Regions from separate parts of the Homo sapiens genome. Here region 1 is linked to region 2. Evidence: promoter capture Hi-C in 16 types of primary human blood cells and fetal thymus (Javierre and others, 2016). All regions are on one chromosome and are shown on one strand. The core of a region is centred on a gene start or on the middle of the fragment in contact, and the rest is flanking DNA. Distances in the headings are between cores, read along the strand shown.

Region 1 (6,106 bases), core at 975-3,474, 39 kb after region 2:
ATCCTTGGGGGATATATTCTGAGACCCCCCTGTGGAGGCCTGAAACTGGAAATAGTACTGAATCCTATATGTACTACGATGTTTTCAACTGATAGCCGAGACAGCTACTAAGTGAATAACAGGCGGGTAGCATATACAGCATGGATACACTAGACAAAGGGATAATTCATGCCCCAGGCAGGACGAAACAGAACAATTTCATAATACTACTCAGAATGGCATGCAATCTAAAGCTTATAAATTATTTCTGGAAATTTCCATTTAATTTTTTGGACTGCATTTGATTGCAGGTAACTGAAACCACACAATGTGAAACTGCAGGCACAGGAGTGCTACTGTATTCGCTACCTGCTCATTAACCACTTAGTAGCTGCTTCAGATATCAGATCTACCATCGGTTTCCCAGTGTTTGTGTTCAAGGAACCCTTGTTTTACTTAGTAATAGCCCCAAAATGTAAGAATAGTGATCCTGGCAATTTAGGTATGCCAAACGGAAGCTATGAAGTGCTTCCTTGAAGGAAAAAGGTGAAAGTTCTTGACTTAATAAGGAAAGAAAAAATCGCATGCTGAGATTGCTAAGATATATGGCAAAAACAAAACTATCTGTGAAATTGTGAAGAAGGAGAATGAAAGGGATACATGGTATATATAAGGTTTGGTGCTGTCTCCAGGTTCGGGCATCGAGAGTTTTGGAATGTATCCCCTGCAGGTAAGGTGGGGGGGGCTACTGTATCATCAAGCACCCTTAAAAATCTGACTGTTTTGAAAAGAGTTTCCTGGGAATAACAACATCCCTTAAGTGTCCAGAAAATCACTGAAACTTTACCCCCAAATTCTTCTATTATTGTTTAAGGCAATAATAACATTGGGAGTGTGTACATACCTTCTCTTGGGTCCATAAATTACCAAATTTGAGGACCCCTGGCTAAGGGTACCTGGGAAGGAGTGGGGTGTACCCTTCATCGTCCTCATCTGCCCCCTGGTGGCACGTTTTGTCACTCTGGACTCCTGCCGTAGGCTGCCAACAGCCTATTTAAACGAAACATCCTTGATATTTAGTGCTTTGTATATTTCCAGAAAGCTTTTCAATTACTGAGATTATCACTTCCTCTCACCATAAAGTTGTATAGCATTGCCCAATAATACTATTGTCATCTGCTTTATCTGTTAATACTTGATTTGTCTCATATTTAAACTGATTTTTGTCACGAGAAGTTTCCCCAGAAATTTTTTTATTCTTTGCCTGTTTTTCCTATATATCCAAATATATCAATTTTTGATCTATTTATATACCCATTTTGTTATCTTCAGGTGCGTTATTTGGTTTTCATTTTTTAAATTTCTTTCCCATTCTGCAGATGAAAAATACTGAGAAACCTACTCTGTTCCTGCATCCGAGCCATTCCACAGGCAGTTTTCCCATACTAAAAATGCTGTCTTCCACTGATGTGTGGCATGTCTCAGTTCCGTGACTTCTTTTCCTCTCTCTCTACTCGCTGCTGTCCCTTTTCTCCATGTGTCTCTAACATGCCTGTGTTCTTCAAGACCCAGTGCAACCACATTCCCTCCCACAACTCTATTTTCATGAGGAATAGCCAAGCAGGACTCCCAAGACATCATACAGGAGTGCCTACAGGGTATCTCTCCTTGGCAGTCCCACAGCACCGCAAATGCCCTGTGTCTGCCAATACTCATCAGCCTCTCTTCCCGTGTGCCTCTCCTGGGACCCTAAGAGAGTAACAGTCCCTGCAACTTCCCACTTTCTCCAGGCAGGGACTTGTGTGCCTTTTCCATGTCTTTGACTCCTTTATTCAATTATAATACAGGTATCTGTCTGCTATAACTCCTGGAACTCTCTTATGTAAATGCGCTTTTTTCATTCTCCGCCTCACATCTTAGCCCAGACCACACCATCTCCCCCCGCCGTCTTGGATACCTTCCATGTTTCCAGTGGTCTGCTCCCACTCCACACTGCAGTACAGTGATTTTTCTAAAACATGGATGGGTTCCTGTCACTCCCCTGTGAAAAGTCATCCATGTGGAGTCTGACTGGTCTGCATTTGGGGACTGGACAGAGTGAGAAGGGATCCTGTGTCAGCCAGGACTCCGGTAGACGCCCCTATGCAATATCCACTTGTGGTGGTCGGGGGCGGGGAAGGGGCGGGATTGAGCCCCCTTCCCCCCTCCTCCTTACTGCGGAAAGCTGCGGAGCGAGCAGCACTCACTTCCTATTCAGCATTCAGCAGGGAGGGAGCCTCTGAACAGCCACGTAGGCATTCTCTTCTCTCTGGAGGAAAAGGCCCAGCAGCTGTCCGAGGAAAAGACCCACCAGCTGTCAGCAAAGGGACATGTCGCAGCTAAGTAAGAATCTGGGTGACTCGAGTCCTCCGGCGGAGGCCCCGAAGCCGCCTGTCTATAGCCGCCCTACGGTTCTGATGCGGGCCCCGCCCGCTTCCTCCCGGGCTCCGCCAGTCCCTTGGGATCCACCTCCAATTGACTTGCAGGCTTCATTGGCCGCTTGGCAGGCACCTCAGCCTGCCTGGGAGGCCCCACAGGGCCAGCTGCCCGCCCCGGTGGTTCCGATGACCCAGCCTCCTGCCCTAGGGGGCCCGATAGTCCCGGCTCCCCCGCTGGGGGGCCCGATGGGTAAGCCTCCGACTCCCGGGGTCCTGATGGTGCATCCTCCACCTCCGGGAGCCCCGATGGCCCAGCCTCCGACCCCGGGAGTCCTGATGGTGCATCCTTCAGCTCCCGGAGCTCCCATGGCCCATCCTCCTCCTCCGGGGACCCCAATGTCCCACCCTCCCCCTCCGGGGACCCCAATGGCCCATCCTCCTCCTCCGGGGACCCCGATGGCCCATCCTCCTCCTCCGGGGACCCCGATGGTGCATCCTCCTCCTCCGGGGACCCCGATGGCTCATCCTCCCCCTCCGGGGACACCGATGGCTCATCCTCCCCCTCCGGGGACACCGATGGCTCATCCTCCACCTCCGGGGACACCGATGGCTCATCCTCCCCCTCCGGGTACACCGATGGCCCAGCCTCCAGCTCCGGGAGTCCTGATGGCCCAGCCTCTGACTCCGGGAGTCCTGATGGTCCAGCCTGCTGCTCCGGGAGCACCGATGGTCCAGCCGCCTCCAGCAGCCATGATGACCCAGCCTCAGCCTTCAGGAGCACCGATGGCCAAGCCTCCAGGTCCAGGAGTCCTGATGATTCATCCTCCAGGTGCGAGAGCTCCGATGACCCAGCCTCCAGCTTCAGGAGCACCGATGGCACAGCCGGCGGCCCCACCTGCACAGCCGATGGCCCCACCTGCACAGCCGATGGCTTCTTGGGCCCCGCAGGCTCAGCCTCTGATCCTGCAAATCCAGTCTCAAGTTATAAGGGCTCCTCCGCAGGTTCCCCAGGGCCCGCAGGCACCCCCAGCGCAGCTAGCCACACCCCCGGGCTGGCAGGCGACCTCGCCAGGATGGCAGGCCACGCAGCAAGGCTGGCAGGCCACTCCCCTGACTTGGCAGACCACGCAGGTCACCTGGCAGGCACCAGCCGTTACCTGGCAGGTGCCGCCGCCCATGCGCCAGGGGCCCCCGCCCATCCGCCCTGGCCCACCACCCATCCGCCCTGGCCCACCACCGGTGCGACAGGCCCCACCGCTGATCCGCCAGGCCCCACCGGTGATCCGCCAGGCCCCACCCGTGATCCGCCAGGCCCCACCCGTGATCCGCCAGGCCCCCGCTGTGATCCGCCAGGCCCCACCTGTGATCCGCCAGGCCCCACCTGTGATCCGCCAGGCTCCACCTGTGATCCGCCAGGCCCCGCCGCTGATCCGCCAGGCGCCGCCGCCCATCCGACCTGCCCCACAGGTCCTGGCCACCCAGCCACCGCTCTGGCAGGCCCTGCCACCCCCACCTCCACTGCGGCAGGCCCCGCAGGCTAGGCTGCCGGCCCCGCAGGTGCAGGCGGCGCCGCAGGTGCCTACGGCCCCACCTGCTACGCAGGTACCCGCGGCGCCGCCCGCTGGCCCGCAGGTGCCCCAGCCTGTGCTGCCGGCCCCGCTGTCTGCCCCACTGTCTGCCCCGCAGGCTGTGCACTGCCCTTCCATCATCTGGCAGGCCCCCAAAGGTCAGCCCCCGGTGCCACACGAGATTCCAACGTCAATGGAATTCCAGGAGGTGCAGCAGACACAGGCGCTGGCCTGGCAGGCCCAGAAGGCCCCCACTCACATCTGGCAGCCCCTGCCTGCCCAGGAGGCCCAGAGGCAGGCTCCCCCCTTGGTCCAGCTGGAGCAGCCCTTTCAGGGAGCCCCGCCCTCCCAAAAAGCCGTGCAAATCCAGCTACCCCCCCAGCAGGCCCAGGCATCGGGTCCGCAAGCGGAGGTGCCCACACTGCCGCTCCAGCCTTCCTGGCAGGCACCGCCTGCAGTCTTGCAGGCCCAGCCCGGACCCCCGGTAGCAGCGGCAAATTTTCCCCTGGGCTCCGCTAAATCATTGATGACTCCATCAGGAGAATGCAGGGCCTCTTCTATAGACCGCAGGGGCTCCTCTAAAGAGCGCAGGACCTCCTCGAAGGAGCGCAGGGCCCCTTCAAAAGACCGCATGATCTTTGCTGCCACCTTCTGTGCTCCCAAGGCAGTGTCAGCTGCGCGAGCACACCTGCCAGCTGCCTGGAAAAACCTGCCTGCCACACCGGAGACCTTTGCTCCCTCCTCAAGTGTCTTCCCAGCTACCTCCCAGTTTCAGCCTGCCTCTCTGAATGCCTTTAAAGGCCCCTCTGCTGCCTCAGAGACCCCAAAGTCACTGCCATATGCTCTGCAGGATCCCTTTGCCTGTGTAGAGGCCCTGCCTGCAGTTCCATGGGTCCCACAGCCCAATATGAATGCCTCAAAGGCATCGCAGGCAGTGCCCACCTTCCTGATGGCTACAGCAGCTGCCCCCCAGGCAACTGCCACCACTCAAGAGGCCTCCAAGACCTCCGTCGAGCCGCCACGCCGCTCCGGCAAGGCCACCCGGAAGAAGAAGCATCTGGAAGCCCAAGAGGACAGCCGTGGCCACACGCTAGCCTTTCATGACTGGCAGGGCCCAAGGCCCTGGGAGAATCTAAATCTGAGTGACTGGGAGGTCCAAAGCCCTATCCAGGTCTCGGGTGACTGGGAGCACCCAAACACCCCCCGTGGCCTGAGTGGTTGGGAGGGCCCTAGCACCTCCAGGATCCTGAGTGGCTGGGAAGGGCCCAGCGCATCCTGGGCCCTGAGTGCCTGGGAGGGCCCGAGCACCTCCAGGGCCCTGGGTCTCTCTGAAAGCCCAGGGAGCTCTCTGCCCGTAGTTGTGTCTGAGGTCGCAAGTGTCTCTCCGGGATCCAGTGCCACCCAGGATAATTCCAAGGTGGAGGCACAGCCCTTGTCTCCCTTGGATGAGAGGGCAAATGCGTTGGTGCAGTTCCTCTTAGTCAAGGACCAAGCCAAGGTGCCTGTCCAGCGCTCGGAGATGGTGAAAGTCATCCTCCGAGAGTATAAAGATGAGTGCTTAGATATCATCAACCGTGCCAACAATAAGCTGGAGTGTGCCTTTGGTTATCAATTGAAAGAAATTGATACCAAAAACCACGCCTATATTATCATCAACAAGCTGGGCTACCATACAGGGAATTTGGTGGCATCCTATTTAGACAGGCCCAAGTTTGGCCTTCTGATGGTGGTCTTGAGCCTCATCTTTATGAAAGGCAACTGTGTCAGGGAGGATCTGATCTTTAATTTTCTGTTCAAGTTAGGGTTGGATGTCCGGGAGACAAACGGTCTCTTTGGAAATACTAAGAAGCTCATCACCGAAGTGTTTGTCAGGCAGAAGTACCTAGAGTACAGGCGAATCCCTTACACTGAGCCCGCAGAGTATGAGTTCCTCTGGGGCCCTCGAGCATTCCTGGAAACCAGCAAGATGCTTGTCCTGAGGTTTTTGGCCAAGCTCCATAAGAAAGATCCACAGAGCTGGCCATTCCATTACCTTGAAGCGCTCGCAGAGTGTGAGTGGGAAGACACAGATGAGGATGAACCTGACACCGGTGACAGTGCCCACGGCCCCACCAGCAGGCCCCCTCCCCGCTAATAGGTGTA
Region 2 (6,962 bases), core at 770-3,269:
AAATATTTTATTTCTTTATTTATTTAATGTTTGAGACAGTCTCGCTCTGTTGCCCAGGCTGGAGTGCAGTGGCATGCTCTCAGCTGACTGCAAACTCCACCTCCCAGGTTCAAGCGAGTCTCCTGCCTCAGCCTGCCAAGCAGTTGGGATTAAGGGTGCCCACCACCACACCCGGCTAATTTTTGTATTTTTAGTAGAGACGGGGTTTTGCCACGTTGGCCAGGCTGGTCTCGACCTCCTGACCTCAGGTGATCTGCCCGCCTCACCTTCCCAAAGTGCTGGGATTACAGGCGTGAGCCACCGCACCTGGCCTAAATATTTTATTTAAATAGTTAGAAAATAATACATACCCAAACAAAATAAAGAATAATATTGATGGAGATTTAAATGCAATAAATGAGGATTATATTTATGAAGCATGGGGGTAATAAGTCTGTTCAAGAGACATTCTTAAAAACAATGAATATAATTAGCATATTTCTGTAAGATGTTCCCAAGAAAATGGTAGATATCTATAAATAGAAGAAGGAGAAAAAGGAGAAGTAGATGGAGAGGAGAAGGAGGAGGTGGAGGAGGGTGAGGAGGAGGAGAAAAGTGTTGAAATAATTCCAACTAAGACTGATATCTAGGAATTACCCTGGTGAAGTGGGAAGCTTAAGAGTCCTGTTGGAGGGACTGGTGTGGTAATGGCTCTGCCAAAAGTGTTATGTGCGTGCAAACCCAAAGAGAGAAAGCACAGAAAACCTTTCAACATCAACCTGCTTGAGGAAAAATAAAGTGGGAAAAGATACATACTCACAGTGAGGACTCTAGACATGTCAAGACAATTTTTAAATATGCTTTTGGCTTCGAGTGGCAATAACTAGATTCAAGACAGCATATTTAAGAAGCTGCTGATGAGAAGAAACCCGGGAAGAGCTGAAGGACCACATCAGCCCAGACCAAGGATGCTGAAGCAGCATTAAGGTCCCTGGTTTCAGATGCTCAGGCAATGACCCTTTTTTTCATGGAGAGCCTGTAGGAGTGACAGTTTTGTCTTTGCCCACTGGGAATCTGTTTTCCATACCTGGAAAACAGGGTTACCTATGTTTCCCCTGCTACCCTTTGGTCATCTCAGAGACACTACCAGATATTACCCATGGGACCTATTTTTTTTTTAAATCTCAGGAAAGACTTGGGTGTGGCTTCCAACGTGGAGGACTCAGTAGCTTCAGAGAGGGTCCTGAGAGAAGGTGAATTGAAGAATGAGGGTGCTGGGCAGAGGGAAAAGACATTATCATACAAGTTTGTGCTAAAAGATATAGCAATCCTTCTGCTATGGACTAAGTATGGAAAAAAATAAAATGGAATCAAAGTTACCCAAAGGAAGTGTAAAACCCAAATTTATGCCCGTTAAAGCATTAATGATGCTCTAAGTCCACTGCCTACTTAAAAAGTTCATAGTTCACATGGGTTGATAGGAAATTACGTTAACGACACACTGCATTTCCCCTTTTCTTATAGCCTATCTGATTTGGTAGGGAGTCGATCATTTTTTATTGGAATTTCTCAGGATTCCAACCTCAGACATCCACTTTACAGTTTACACATTTTCTTGGACAAGCCCGACTGTTCCTCTCACTGGTTCGCATAAAGCTCATGTTTACAAAGCCGCCCAGACCTTTCTCTGGGACTCTCATATTTAACTTAATTCTGGATATACCCAGGTAAGCGTTTCCCAAGAAACTTGACCCCAACATCCCAAAAACTTAAGGTATCTTTCCCTTAAACTGGCCCCTTCTCCAGTACGCATCCATCTCACTTCTCTCCTGCCCTAGATCTTCTCAGCCCAAACAGGAAACCCCGGGATCGCTCTCCCAGCAGGTGAAGCCTCGCCATGGACCCTCCCCGTCGGGGCCCCGCGCTGCCCCGCCCGCCCCCAGCCGCTGGCCAAGGCCGCGGTCGCGCAGGCGCAGTGCCGCGTCCCGCCGCCGCCCCGCCCTGCCCGTCGCTGCGGAAGGCGCCGCGCGCAGCAACGCGCACTTCCTCTCCAGGAATCCGCGGAGGGAGCGCAGGCTCGAAGAGCTCCTGGACGCAGAGGCCCTGCCCTTGCCAGACGGCGCAGACATGTCAGAACAAAGTAAGGATCTGAGCGACCCTAACTTTGCAGCCGAGGCCCCCAACTCCGAGGTGCACAGCAGCCCTGGGGTTTCGGAGGGGGTTCCTCCGTCCGCGACCCTGGCAGAGCCGCAGAGCCCTCCTCTAGGCCCGACGGCCGCTCCGCAGGCCGCGCCGCCTCCCCAGGCCCCGAACGACGAGGGCGACCCGAAGGCCCTGCAGCAGGCTGCGGAGGAGGGCCGCGCCCACCAGGCCCCGAGCGCGGCCCAGCCGGGCCCGGCACCGCCAGCCCCGGCGCAGCTGGTGCAGAAGGCGCACGAGCTCATGTGGTACGTGCTGGTCAAGGACCAGAAGAAGATGATCATCTGGTTTCCAGACATGGTGAAAGATGTCATCGGCAGCTACAAGAAGTGGTGCAGGAGCATCCTCCGGCGCACCAGCCTCATCCTCGCCCGGGTGTTCGGGCTGCACCTGAGGCTAACCAGCCTGCACACCATGGAGTTTGCGCTGGTCAAAGCGCTGGAGCCCGAGGAGCTGGACAGGGTGGCGCTGAGCAACCGCATGCCCATGACAGGCCTCCTGCTCATGATCCTGAGCCTCATCTACGTGAAGGGCCGCGGCGCCAGAGAGAGCGCCGTCTGGAACGTGCTGCGCATCCTGGGGCTGCGGCCCTGGAAGAAGCACTCCACCTTCGGGGACGTGCGGAAGCTCATCACTGAGGAGTTCGTCCAAATGAATTACCTGAAGTACCAGCGCGTCCCATACGTGGAGCCGCCCGAATACGAGTTCTTTTGGGGCTCCCGGGCCAGCCGCGAAATCACCAAGATGCAAATCATGGAGTTCCTGGCCAGGGTCTTTAAGAAAGACCCCCAGGCCTGGCCCTCCCGATACAGAGAAGCTCTGGAGGAGGCCAGAGCTCTGCGGGAGGCTAATCCCACTGCCCACTACCCTCGCAGCAGTGTCTCTGAGGACTAGCAAAGTCTGGAGGCAGATGAATGGTTTCTGACCCTCACCAGGGCTGTGGAAGGGTGGGGGTGGGTCATTATAGTATTCAGGATTTACAGTGCAGTATTCACGTGTAACTTTTAAGTTTTCAGTACAGTGCTTTTATACCTTTAATGCAATGTTGTATTCATTTGGGTACTATTGTGTAGTATTTAGGATGTATGCATGTTTGTTTATATGTAAGCTTGGTTGGTGCTTTCGCTTTTGTGCTACCTTTCTTGGATTTTTGTACCAGAGATGTGCTAAACTGATGAAATACATTGAGAAAGTTTCCATCTTATTCTTTTATATGGGACTGATGATGTGTGTTGGGGTAGACTGCTCCTGCAGAGTTTGGAAGAAGTCACCAGCAAAGCCGGCCTAACCAAGAAAAGTCAAGGCCCTTCATGACCTTGCTGGGCACAGAAAACACCCTCGTGGAGTACACTAATTTGAACTGGACTGGTCTCAGTGTGAGCACTTGGCACACTTTACTAAACACATATACAACCCCACCGTGAGTCAACTTTAAAGTAAACATTAAAGATTCTTGTGATACAATCATTTTTGGAAAAGTGTACTTTATCATTTTAACAAAGCAGTATGGTTGGGAATGAGACAATTCTCTATTTTACAGTGTATACAGATACAACTATTTCCCCTAATAGGGTGGGAAAAATCGCTACTCATGATTACTCCTAAATTTGTGAAGTTTATAGTTCTATTGTCTTTAAATGTAACTCATGTTTATTTCAAAAACATTCACAAATATAGAAAAGTATACAAAACAAAACAGTAAGATTGTCTGTAATCACATCATATGGGAATAAAAAACAAAAATAATTTCCTTCCCTTAAGTTTCTACATTTTATCAAAATTAATAGATGTCTTGTGACATCTATTAATATACATATAACATATTTATAATATAAAAGAGTGAGACATTGTGCTAAGCCCTAACATGTATTTTTCTCCTTTAATCCTTGCAACAGGCCTGTCAGGCAGGCACCTACTGCCTCTGCACCATGGAGGAAACACAGGAATAATGTAGGTAATGAACTTTCCATAGCTCATAAAGGTTAATAAGAGAAGGAGCTAGGACTTGAACTCAGAATGAATCCAGAGCCCACATTTGTCTCCACCTGCCTACGACTGCCCTATACCCCGTGGCTTTTAGGTTATTTATTTTTAAATTTATTTTTACATTTTATGTGGGAGCCTACAATCACATGGGTTCATGGGCCACACATACAAAAAGGCTAGGAATTTTATTTTTCTAATTCTCATGATATTTTGGAGAAAGCAATATCATTCTGATTGTGCAAATTAAGAAACTTACTTTTGGAGAGGTTAATTAACCTAACAAAGTGATATTCCTATTTAGCAGTGAAGCTAGGATTTGAAACAATCTCTCCTGAGGGTTGGAGGTGAAGGCACCTTCTCTGACAAACACACAAGACACCTGAGAGAGGGAGGTGGGTTGTCCATCAGGATGTCTGTGGCCTTGCAGCCCTTCAGTTGCGGTGAGCCACTAGGTAATCCTCAGAGGATGGGGTGGGCTGCGGGTGGGCATTAGGGGCAATGCCTGAAGAAAAATCTCACTGTGAATTTTTAGTCCTGCAAGGGGTAGCGGGGAGAAAGGGGGCTTTAATAAGACTAGAAGTCCTTTAAACTACAAAAGAGTGGGAAAGACCATTTGGCCAAAGCCAGAAACTTTTCTGTGGAAGATGGATAATGAAGAGGACACATGTCACATAACACCCCAAAGAAGTAAACTGGGAGTCCTATTAGGGTGAGGGAATTATAATTTGGAATTGCCAACACTTACTGGCATTACTTAACAGGTGGGGGCAGGTGCTGGAAATGCTTAGGAAGCCCCTGTTCATGCTGAGATGAAATCCATCCCGGTTTAAAAGCTTCCTGTGAAGATTTTCAAGGGGGTTCTGCAGAGAAAGGGGGACATTTCTGCAATCACCCAGGCAGGGGTGACCTGGCTTTGATGGCACCTCTTACACAAAACCAATGTGAGTGTCTCACCTGTTCAGAAGTGTTAGGATTGTTTGGAAATCTTACCTCCCCACAACCCATCGAAAAGTTTCTCCAGAATCAAAATAAACCTGCCCGTTATCATTTAAAATTGTGGGGATATCCAGGATGTTTCATTTCTGGAGTAGGACTGTGGGCTGTTGTTCCTGCCACACATGGTGCTGGTCATCTTCTCTAATGCCTTAATACTTCCCTCACTGCTGGATTGATGCCTTGCAGGAGCAGTAACCCCTGTGCGCTTCTTGCAGTCAAGCCCAGAAATCACCAGGCAAACAGTCTCCTTACATCCCCGTTTAACTCCTTATGTTGTGTCCACTTTCCTCTCTGCTGTCAGAGGCAGGGAGAACCACCCTTTCCAAAGCTGTCCCAAGCTCACTCACACAGGCACCCTAGCCAGGCCATAGAGGACCTAGCCCTTGCAGGAGAAACAGAATGTGAGAATGTGAGAATGTGAGAAAGGAGTAAGGCATGGGGCAGAGCGACTCGTCCCTAATGCTGCCTAGGAGGCAGCCAGACCTAGAGAAAGAGGCTTCCAGATGTGAAATGAGTTTACTTCATGACACCTGATCCTGCAGAGATAGCAGCTTGGGGCATGGGGAGAGAGAACCCAGCAGCTCTCTTGGGTTTTCATGCTGGGCTCTAAATAGAAAGACTGGAGGGTTTGTCAAATATTTACCAAAAGATTCACCTACAAGGTCCTGGGATAGGTCAATCAGGAAGGGGTCAGCTGGTCCTCAGTGTTGCAGTCCAACATGACAGTGTGCTGAAGCCCAGACTGCTGTGGGTGGGAGAGACTTTCCTAAATCCCCATAACATGTCAACTTTTACCTGCCAACTGGAACCTCATTTCTTCACAAACACCTGCAAACATATTTTGATTTGTTAATTTCATTTTATGAAAGGAAGGGAAAAGGGATCTTTATAAATTTAATATAAAATATAAAGACACCTGGTGTAAGTTGTCCTGAGAGGAAATAAATAACTTTAAGCAGTATCATTATTAAATAGAAATGTTTTAAGTGAACTTCTTATGCAGTTAAATATTTCCTCTGCTTGAAAACCCTTTTATGTCCTTCTCCAACCTGAGTCTTACCTGACCAACTCATGAACACTATTTCCTGGGAGAACACACTCCCTAACCTCTAAGCACAGCCATGTTCTAAATGCACCCAAAATACACCTGCTGTTTATAATTATGTGCCTTTTATTTCTCTCCTCCTGGATTGTTACATACTTAAGGGTTAGAATTGTCTTTATCCTGTTCATTATTTGCTTGACACTTGAGGTAAGGATGGGGCATAAGGGCTGCACTTGATACATATTTGTTATATAAGTTAAGTAACTCAACATATTAGAAAAGACCTACCCATCCACACAAGAAAACAAAACCATATGTGGCTGACAAAAATTAGCCAATTTAAAGGGCGCGGTGGCTCATGCCTGTAATCCCAGCACTTTGGGAGGCCGAGGCAGGCAGATCACGAGGTCAGGAGATGAGACCATCCTGGCTAACATGGTGAAACCCCGTCTCTACTGAAAATACAAAAAAATTAGCCGGACGTGGTTGCGGGTGCCTGTAGTCCCAGCTACTCGGGAGGCTGAGGCAGGAAAATAGTGTGAACCCGGGAGGCGGAGCTTGCAGTGAGCTGAGATCCCGCCACTGCACTCCAGCCTGGGGCGACAGAGCCAGACTCCATCTCAAAAAATAAATAATAATAATAATAATAAAATAGAGGTAACGTAGGACGGGCGCGATGGCTCATGTCTGTAATCTCACCACTTTGGGAGGCCGAGATGGGCGGATCACTTGAGGTCAGAAGTTCAAGGCGAGGCTG

Evidence for each region. Contacts are between HindIII fragments. The CHiCAGO score rates a contact against its expected background, and 5 or more counts as called.
Region 1: a contact is called between the fragment with the promoter of MAGEL2 here and the fragment with the promoter of NDN in region 2, in 1 of 17 cell types (neutrophils). The highest score is 5.0, in neutrophils.

Annotation. Positions count from the first base shown.
Region 1 is chr15:23,643,985-23,650,090 of GRCh38, reverse strand. It overlaps MAGEL2 (MAGE family member L2), which reads left to right and starts at 2,224. Exons shown (of 1, transcript NM_019066.5): 1 at 2,224-6,106. The coding sequence starts at 2,349. The coding sequence ends at 6,098. RefSeq lists an enhancer at 2,937-3,781. The HindIII fragment of the contact is 5,160 bases long and covers 1,084-6,106 here.
Region 2 is chr15:23,682,362-23,689,323 of GRCh38, reverse strand. It overlaps NDN (necdin, MAGE family member), which reads left to right and starts at 2,019. Exons shown (of 1, transcript NM_002487.3): 1 at 2,019-3,924. The coding sequence starts at 2,107. The coding sequence ends at 3,072. The HindIII fragment of the contact is 2,633 bases long and covers 656-3,288 here.